Regions from separate parts of the Homo sapiens genome. Here region 2 is linked to region 1. The links are contacts of gene promoters, found by promoter capture Hi-C in blood cells and fetal thymus (Javierre and others, 2016). All regions are on one chromosome and are shown on one strand. Each heading gives the region's core, a stretch centred on a gene start or on the middle of the fragment in contact. The rest is flanking DNA. Distances are from core to core; before and after follow the strand shown. Region 1 holds the start of GOSR2 (golgi SNAP receptor complex member 2). Region 2 overlaps NSF (N-ethylmaleimide sensitive factor, vesicle fusing ATPase).

Region 1 (4,466 bases), core at 871-3,370:
TTGATAAATAAAATTGTACTGGAACACAGGTACATCAATTAGTTTACATATTGTCTATGGCTGTTTTCCCAATATAACAGCAGAGTAGTAACTACAGAGACCGTATAGCCCACAGAGCCTAAAATATTTACTATCTGGCCCTTAATAGAAAAAACTGGCAAGCTGCTAGAGTCCAAGGGTGCATTGTTGGAGGCCTACAGAGCATCTACACTCCACACACCTTGTTTGGGGTACCATTTAGAATTCCTCTTCTGAGCCATGCAGTTTTCTCTGTGATTAGCTGCACTGAAAACAGGTAGTCTAAGACTCTCTAAATAAAGTTATTCTTGAATATAAAATGGGTCATGGCCTTCTTGGCAACATCCTTTAACTAAATTAACTAGATAAGACCATACATAACAGATTAACTTCAAGGCACTACTATGCCCATTGTGCCCTGCTATTGTGAAAGATAGGCCCTTTCTTAGTAACATGAACATAATTTCGTTTCATTCTTTCTCTAAATTACTCACAGACTAGTTTTAAGTCCCTTCCTATAACGTTTATGTGAGAATAGGGCTCCCCAGTGTAAAAGAAAATTCTGTCATTACAAAGTAGGTTCTGTATTTTCGCCTGTCCAAATGAAACACCTCATCGCCAAAATAAAAGAAACCCATAAACTTAGAAAATGAAAGAGAAAGAGGATCATCACCCTCTTATTCCTCATGCTTCAGGGCATTTCATTTCCAGGCCTTGGGAGTGTGATTTTAAGTGTTTTAATCAACAAAACTACAGCATAAGTTTGAAAGTTCTCAATAGGATAGGTATATACCTCAAAAAATTGAGAAGAGAAACTAAAACAGATACTTCTACACCAGAGTTCATAGCAGTATTATTCTCAACAGCCCAATGGTGGAAACAACTCAAGTGTCCATCAACAGATGAATGGATAACAAAATGTGGTAGACACATAAAACGGAATATTATTCCGTCATAAAACAGAATGAAATTCTGGTAACAGGCTACAATATAGATGAACCCTGAAAACATTAAGTGAAATAAGCCAGATACAAAAGGACAAATTCTGTATGACTCCACTTATATTAAGTATCTAGAATAGGTAAACTCATAGAGAGAAGTAAAACAGAGGTTACTAGGTGTTCTGGAAGGAAGAAATGAAGTGCTACTGATTAACAGGCACACTGGGATGATGAAAAAGTTCTGGAAATGGATCGTAGTGATGTAAGTTGTGAATGTACTCAATGTCACTGAATTGTACACTTAAAAATTGTTAAAACAGTAAATCTTATGTTGTGTATATTTTACAATAAAAAATAAAAATCATAAAATTCCGTCCCTCCAAAACAGGGTAAAAATCATAATTCTGCCCCCCGCCCCCAAAAATAGGGTAAGTATGGCCCCATTAATACTCAACTACGTATCTCAGCAATTCCGAAAGTGCAGGACGATGCGAATAAAGGACACTACCAAGGAATTTAAGTTATGAGAAACTAAATTACAATTTGATTTTCTTAGCGATAACCTGTAACCAGATACGATTAACAAGTAATAATAGTGAATGCTACGTGGACAGCAATTTCTTTGTACCATAAAAATGTGGTCTTTAGTATAAATCGAATAAGAATACAAATACTTTCCCGTACGTGCCCTGACTCTCCAATTAAACAGTACACTCCTACGGCCAGGGGCCGTGTCTCCTACTCCGTGTCTCCTCTCGAGGTCTACCAACCAGGAGCACCGAGTTGACAAGTGCTGGACAAAGTTTTATAACCTGCAGGTGCCAGTTTCCCGTCACCCAGTCTACCCAGCAGGTAGTCACGAACTTGCAGACCCCAGGAGTCATCTGCCCCACGTCTCCAGGCCCCAGCCTGAACCCACTGTCTGTGGCTGACCTGGGAGTCCCGCCAAGGATTAAGCACTTCGGAGGCATCCCCAGCAGTGCCCTGGCGGAAAAACTCGGCCTCTACCCTGGCTGACGTCCGAGGCCTCAGCCCCAGAAGCCAGGCTCACCTGGCCTCGCCTCGTCTAGCCCCTGCCCGCTCCCCGACCGGCCCTCACTTGTGCGTTTGCTGGAACAGGGGATCCATGTCGCCGGCCCCGCAGGCCACGGCTCCGGCTCTGGCTTCCTCGGAACACGTCCTCACAGCCCCCCTTCCGGTTTCCGGCTTCCGGTCGCAGGACCCTCCCTCCCCTGCCGGCCAGGGCTGCCCGCACGCGCGCCTTACTAGCAGTGGTTGCGAGATCGGAGAAGGGGAAGGAGAAATGAGGCCGGCGACGGAAGGATAAGTGTAGTCACAGGCTCGGCTTCACGTGAAGGGCAAGGCGGTGTACATGTTCGCTGAAGGCTAGCCTCAGGATTCAGTCAGGCGTTAGGAAGGACAATCGCGGGATACTAACGAGAGGTCCTCAGAGCAAAGTTGAAGGCGAGCCGCTATCATCTGCTGTTCTCTGCCGCAGAGAGGACTGGAGGTTCTTGCTTGGCTTCACTTTAAACCATTTAATCGGGGGTCTGGAGATTTCGCTCTTCACTGTTTTTCCTGGCGCAAGCTTTTCCTGTTTCGCATTTGTCTACTCACTCTCCCGCCTATCTACCCCCCATTCCTATTTATCCATCCAGTAAACCTACATTGAATGAGTGGTTATTATGTGTCATGTGTAAAGTAGGGAAAACCGGGTTCCTCCTGCCCTCAAAGAGGTTCTGGTCTGGGAAAGGAAATAAGATATGTATACTCTCAAAAGACAAAATTACAAGAAATGTAGTTATAGATTTTTTTTCTTTATTTTATTATTTTTTATTATTATACTTTAAGTTCTAGGGTACATGTGCACAACGTGCAGGGTTGTTACATATGTATACATGTGCCATGTTGGTGTGCTGCACCCATTAACTCGTCATTTACATTAGGTATATCTCCTAATGCTATCCCTTCCCCCTCTCCCCACCCCACAACAGGCCCCGAAGTGTGATGTCCCCCTTCCTGTGTCCAAGTGTTCTCATCGTTCAGTTCCCACCTATGAGTGAGAACATGTAATGTTTGTTTTTTTGTCCTTGCGATAGTTTGCTGAGAATGTTGGTTTCCAGCTTCATCCGTGTCCCTACAAAGGACATGAACTCATCATTTTTTATGGCTGCATAGTATTCCATGGTGTATATATGCCACATTTTCTTAATCCAGTCTGTCATTGTTGGACATTTGGGTTGGTTCCAGGTCTTTGCTATTGTGAATAGTGCTGCAATAAACATACATGTAAATGTGTCTTTATAGCAGCATGATTTATAATCCTTTGGGTATATACCCAGTAATGGGATGGCTGGGTCAAATGGTATTTCTAGTTCTAGATCCCTGAGAAATCTCCACACTGTCTTCCACAATGGTTGAACCAGTTAACAGTCCCACCAACAGTGTAAAAGTGTTCTTATTTCTCCACATCCTCTCCAGCAGCTGTTGTTTCCTGACTTTTTAATGGTCGCCATTCTAACTGGTGTGAGATGGTATCTCATTGTGGTTTTGATTTGCATTTCTCTGATGGCCAGTGATGATGAGCATTTTTTCATGTGTCTGTTGGCTGCATAAATGTCTTCTTTTGAGAAGTGTCTGTTCATATCCTTCGCCCACTTGTTGATGGGGTTGTTTGTTTTTTTCTTGTAAATTTGTTTGAGTTCATTGTAGATTCTGGATATTAGCTCTTTGTCAGATGAGTAGATTGCAAAAATTTTCTCCCATTCTGTAGGTTGCCTGTTCACTCTGATGGTAGTTTCTTTTGCTGTGCAGAAGCTCTTTAGTTTAATTAGATCCCATTTGTCAATTTTGGCTTTCGTTGTCATTGCTTTTGGTGTTTTAGACATGAAGTCCTTGCCCATGCCTATGTCCTGAATGGTATTGCCTAGGTTTTCTTCTAGGGTTTTTATGGTTTTAGGTCTAACATGTAAGTCTTTAATCCATCTTGAATTGATTTTTGTATAAGGTGTAAGGAAGGGATCCAGTTTCAGCTTTCTACATATGGCTAGCTAGTTTTCCCAGCACCATTTCAAAAACGATGGTTAGATCCCACGAAGTAGGTGGTAATGCCTTAACCGTATGCGTGTTGTCAGGCCCAAGGGCCTCTTCCATCCTTGTCAAAGGGAGTGCTAACCTTCTCTCCTTTAATACAACACAGTTACAGATCTTAACTGGCTATTTGCGATTCTAGCACCAGGCAACACCTTATTCTATAAAATAGAATGAGTATTCTGATGAGCTGAGCAGAGGAGATTATCTTTATAGACAGAAAAGGGCTGAAAAAAAAAAGCAGAAACAAAGAACAAGTTTCAAAGTTATTTTACTTGTATTGGTTAAGGCAGAAGGGACTTCCTTTATCATGGGGATATGGCTATTTTCCCTCTCTTCTGATTTCTCCTAAGGTCAGATGAGCAGCTTAATTTTGGCTTTGTGGCTTGGAACTTTAGCATGAGTGACTCTATTTTG
Region 2 (4,466 bases), core at 937-3,436, 190 kb after region 1:
AAAAAATTATCTGGGTGTGGTGGTGTGCGCCTGTAGTCCCAGCTACTTGGGAGGCTGAGGCATGAGAATTGCTTGAACCCGGGAGGCAGAGGTTGCAGTGAGTTGAGATCGCGCCACTGCACTCCTGGAAAAAAAAAAATCAGAAAAAAAGAACTTTTTGGTGGAAGAAAATATTAATATAGTAATATATTCAGCTTTGTACCAACAGGTGGAAAATTTATTTTTTTTTTTAGTAGAGGAAGGGGCCCACAGGAGTCAAAATGGGGCCTTGCTCTCTGGAAGGCCTCTCCAGCTCTCACTGCAGCCCAGTTTTATGTTTTTGTGTTTTTTTCGAGACAAGGTCTCACTCTGGTTGCCCAGGCTGGAGTGCAGTTGCATGATCTCCACTCACTGCAGCCTCGACCTCCTGGGCTCAGGTGATTCTCCCACTTCAGCCTCCCGAGTAGCTGGAATTACAGGTGTGCACCACCATGCTTGGCTTTTTTTTTTTTTTTTTTTTTTGAGACAGAGTCTCGCTCTGTTGCCCAGGCTGGAGTGCAGTGGCGCGATCTCGGCTCGCTGCAACCTCCACCTCCTGGGTTCAAGCGATTCTCCTGCCTCAGCCTCCTGAGTAGCTGGGACTACAGACGCCTGTCACCATGCCTGGCTAATTTTTGTATTTTTAGTAGAGGCGGGGGTTTCACCATACTGGCCAGGCTGGTCTCGAACTCCTGACCTTGAATGATCCACCTACCTTGGCCTCCCAAAGTGCTGGGATTACGGGTGTGAGCCACCGTGCCTGGACTTTTTTGTATTTTTAGTAGAGATGGGGTTTTGCCATATTGCCCAGGCTGGTCTAGAAGTCCTGGACTCAAGCGATCCTCCTGCCTTGGCCTCCCAAAGTGCTGGGATTACGGGTGTGAGCCACCGTGCCTGGACTTTTTTGTATTTTTAGTAGAGATGGGGTTTTGCCATATTGCCCAGGCTGGTCTAGAAGTCCTGGACTCAAGTGATCCTCCTGCCTTGGCCTCCCAAAGTGCTGGGATTATAGGCGTAAGCCACTGCGCCCAACCACAGTTTAGTTCTCTTACTGTATGAACAGCTCATGAATCCTGGTGGTTGCCTGCCTTAATTTATAGCAGATGAAAGCAGCACACTGGAAAAAGGAGTCATCAGAGGCAGGCCAGCTGACACAACTCACTTGGATTCTGCAAGTAACAGCTGATAGCAAAACCACTAAAAAAAGAAAAGGTACAAAAAACTCAACAAACAGGGCACACCGTATCTACCTAACAGGCACCAGGACGGAATCCTGTATATTCCAACAGTTCCTGCTGAGTCCCACCCATGAAAATACTGACCCATCAATTATGGTTTGTTATGATGGTCCTTATTCATTAACATAGAGTTTATTATACTTTGCTTCAGACACTAAGAATGTATGTAGCAATTTTTTTCCTCTTAAAAAAGGCTAAAGTATAATAATTGATATTTAAAGAGGTTAAGCTTCAGTCATTTAGAAAAAATGAAGCCTATAATTTCTTATGAATTTCTATTCTTCCCTCCAGTGAAACTATGCCATATGAAGCCTAAGATAAGTACACAGAACATATCCTCAAATTCTCAAGTATCATATTGTACGTTAATTAAAAAAATTTAGGCTGGGTGTAATGGCTCACACCTGTAATCCCAGCACTCTGGGAAGCTGAGGTGGGTGGACTGCTTGAGCCCAGGAGTTTGAGACCAGCCTGGGTAACATGGCAAAACCCTGTCTATACAAAAAATATAAAGATTAGTCAGGTGTGGTGGTGTGCACCTGTTGTCCCAGCTACTCCAGGGGCTGAGGCGGGAGGATCAATTGAGCCCAGGAGGTAAAGGCTGCAGTGATTGAGACTGCGTCACTGCACTCCACCCTGGGCAACACAGCAAGATCCTATCTCTAATAATAATAATAATAATAATAATAATAATAATAATAATAATATGCTAATTTTAGCATACATAAATCCTTCACCTTCTCTCTCCATTGCTGCAGCGCTTGAATTCCTTAGCATGGCACAATGGCCCTGACTAAATCTCCCTTTTACTCATCTTTCAAGACCAGGATCCGAAACTACTATTTGTGAATGATTTGCACATCTTCTCAGGTAAAATGGACCACACTTTCCTTTATGTTCCACTGGAACCACGTAACATATAAAACCTAACTCTATGCATCATGTTTTCACATCTTTCTCCCACCCTGGATTGTGACAGGGACACCAGTTAGCTTCTGCATGGATCAGAAAACACACACACACACACACACACACACACACACGCACACACACCCTAGGTGAACAAATTAGAAAAAAGCAATCATCTGGGTGAGTGCAGCCACCCTTGCTTCCTTCCCCAAGCCCCAGCACCTCGTATGAGCTAAAAGGCACCCTCTTCCTCTTGTTCAGCGTTAGGGTTGCTAGAGAAATACCTGAGTATAAGTCTGACCAAAATATGGGATATGCTGATGCTAAAAAATTATGTGATGTTTTTCTGAAATTTAAATTTAACTAAGTATCCTATATTCCTATCTGCTAAATCTGGTAACCTTACTCAGGGCAGATTCAGTCCCAAACCAGGGTGGACTCCTTGGTGGGCAGCATGTGGGCTGGATGTTAACCTTCATTTGCTACTTGACCTGTGCCCACCTTGTGCACAAACTTCACAATTGAACAGTGTTCTTGGACTATGAGCCATCTGAGGGCAGGTACAATGTCTTATTCATCTTTTTATCTCTATACTGAGAAGGATTTCTTAAATGTACATCTAATAAAAGCAGATGTTCCTTAAAGAAATGTTTTAAACTTCTATGTCAAAAGAAATATTTTTGGTGAAAAAGAAACTTCCGATCTCCTTTCAATGAAGCTTAAGACAATCGTTACCATCTACCTTGGTCAACTTTAGTCACACTGGCATTCAACCATGGTAAGTTTAGATGGGGAGCATGGCACTGAGCCAAGTGCCAGGTGGGTTTCCCAGGACAACTGTGAGAGTTAGGAGGCACTTGCACACTTTTACTCCAAAACCCACAGCATATTTCAGATATTCAATTAAATCTTAAGTCATAAAAAGAACAAGGTTAAAAATATATTATACATAGACAAGCTTAGATACAAAGGTAGTCTCATTTAACCCTAGTGGTTAGCAGCAAATTAGTACCAAAGCAATGGAATTAAGGAATTTTTGACAGTTATACTGCTAAGTTAAAAATAATTGTATACACATTTTTTATTTTTTCCTGATTATCAAAGTAACATATGCTTATTGTAGAAAATCTATAAAGTACAGGAAACAATAAAGCAAAATAAAAAAGAAATCACCTATAATCCTACCATCCAAGATTAACAGGGTAAGGAGTAGAGGGAGGGCCAGGGCTTCTGGCCATTGTGAGATCCCCAAGGACACAGGAAATCTCCAAAGATCTGCATTCTTGTTTCTGGGACAGAAAGGTAGGAAAGAAACTGTGAAGCACCACTTTGTTGCACCATGAGTTAGGAGAAAAGGGGAACTTCAGCCACAAGCAACAGGTGGTGGCAGGGAAAGGAAGCAGGTGGGCCAGTCCCTGGAGGCTGAAGACAAGTGTGACCTGGTGGTGGCCTACTGATCTTGGCAATTCCTGTCTCCACTTCCTACTTCTTTCTACAACAGGAATCCCTAATCCCCAGACAAGAGTATTTGTCTTAGGATGTAGGAAGCTTCTAAATTTCAGTGAATGAGAGATGGGGAAGCAGGTTTCTTTTCCCAGTACTGCAAATGAGGGAAGTTGGGTTCAGGCATTCCAAAGTGGGAGCTCTGAACTCACTTCCTATGGAAACTTCCTCTATATAGCAGTTATTATACGTTCTTCAGTTTTCCTATCTTACAAGCTGAAAAGGTTCTGTGGACTATCCAAAGGCAATTCTTTTTTTGAGACAGAGTCTCACTCCATCCACCCAGGATGGAGTGCAGTGGTACAATCTCAGCTCACTGCAAACTCCGCCTCCTGGGTTCAAGCAATTCTCCTGCCTCAGCTTCCCGAGTCGCTGGGATTACAGGTGCACACCACCACGTCGAGCTAATTTTTGTATTTTTAGTAGAGATCGGGTTTCACTATGTTGGCCATGCTGGTTTTGAACTCCTGACCTCAAATGATCCACCTGTCTCAGCCTCCCAAAGTGCTGGGATTACAGGCATGAGCCACTGCGCCTGGACAGCTCATGTAGTCCACCAGTTTACAAAGGGCTTCACTACACATTATCTTAGCTGACCCTCAACAGAGTAGGTAACACATGAGGAATTATCTCTATTTTACAGATGAAGAAATAGACACCAAGAAATTAAGGGACGTTCAAGGCTATAATGCCAGATGATATCTGAGCTAAGACATAGGTTTCTTTTTTTTTTTTTTAAACCTCAAGTTCAATACAAAGAGTAAGTTCTACAGAAAGGGTGCTCTTAACTAGAGTCAT

The links. Contacts are between HindIII fragments. The CHiCAGO score rates a contact against its expected background, and 5 or more counts as called.
Region 2: a contact is called between a fragment that was not itself captured here and the fragment with the promoter of GOSR2 in region 1, in 1 of 17 cell types (naive B cells). The highest score is 5.2, in naive B cells.

What each region holds. Positions count from the first base shown.
Region 1 is chr17:46,920,814-46,925,279 of GRCh38, reverse strand. It overlaps GOSR2 (golgi SNAP receptor complex member 2), which reads right to left and starts at 2,120. Exons shown (of 6, transcript NM_004287.5): 1 at 2,059-2,120. The coding sequence starts at 2,087. GOSR2-DT (GOSR2 divergent transcript) reads left to right here and starts at 2,409. Exons shown (of 3, transcript NR_186460.1): 1 at 2,409-2,469. It also overlaps a transcript of LRRC37A2 not described here and the pseudogene RNU6ATAC3P. RefSeq lists an enhancer at 1,420-2,144. The HindIII fragment of the contact is 7,846 bases long and covers 1-2,549 here.
Region 2 is chr17:46,735,406-46,739,871 of GRCh38, reverse strand. All of the region lies in intron 17 of NSF (N-ethylmaleimide sensitive factor, vesicle fusing ATPase), which reads right to left. It also overlaps a transcript of LRRC37A2 not described here. Among named protein-coding and RNA genes, the nearest start is that of WNT3, 81 kb to the left of the region's middle. The HindIII fragment of the contact is 1,398 bases long and covers 1,488-2,885 here.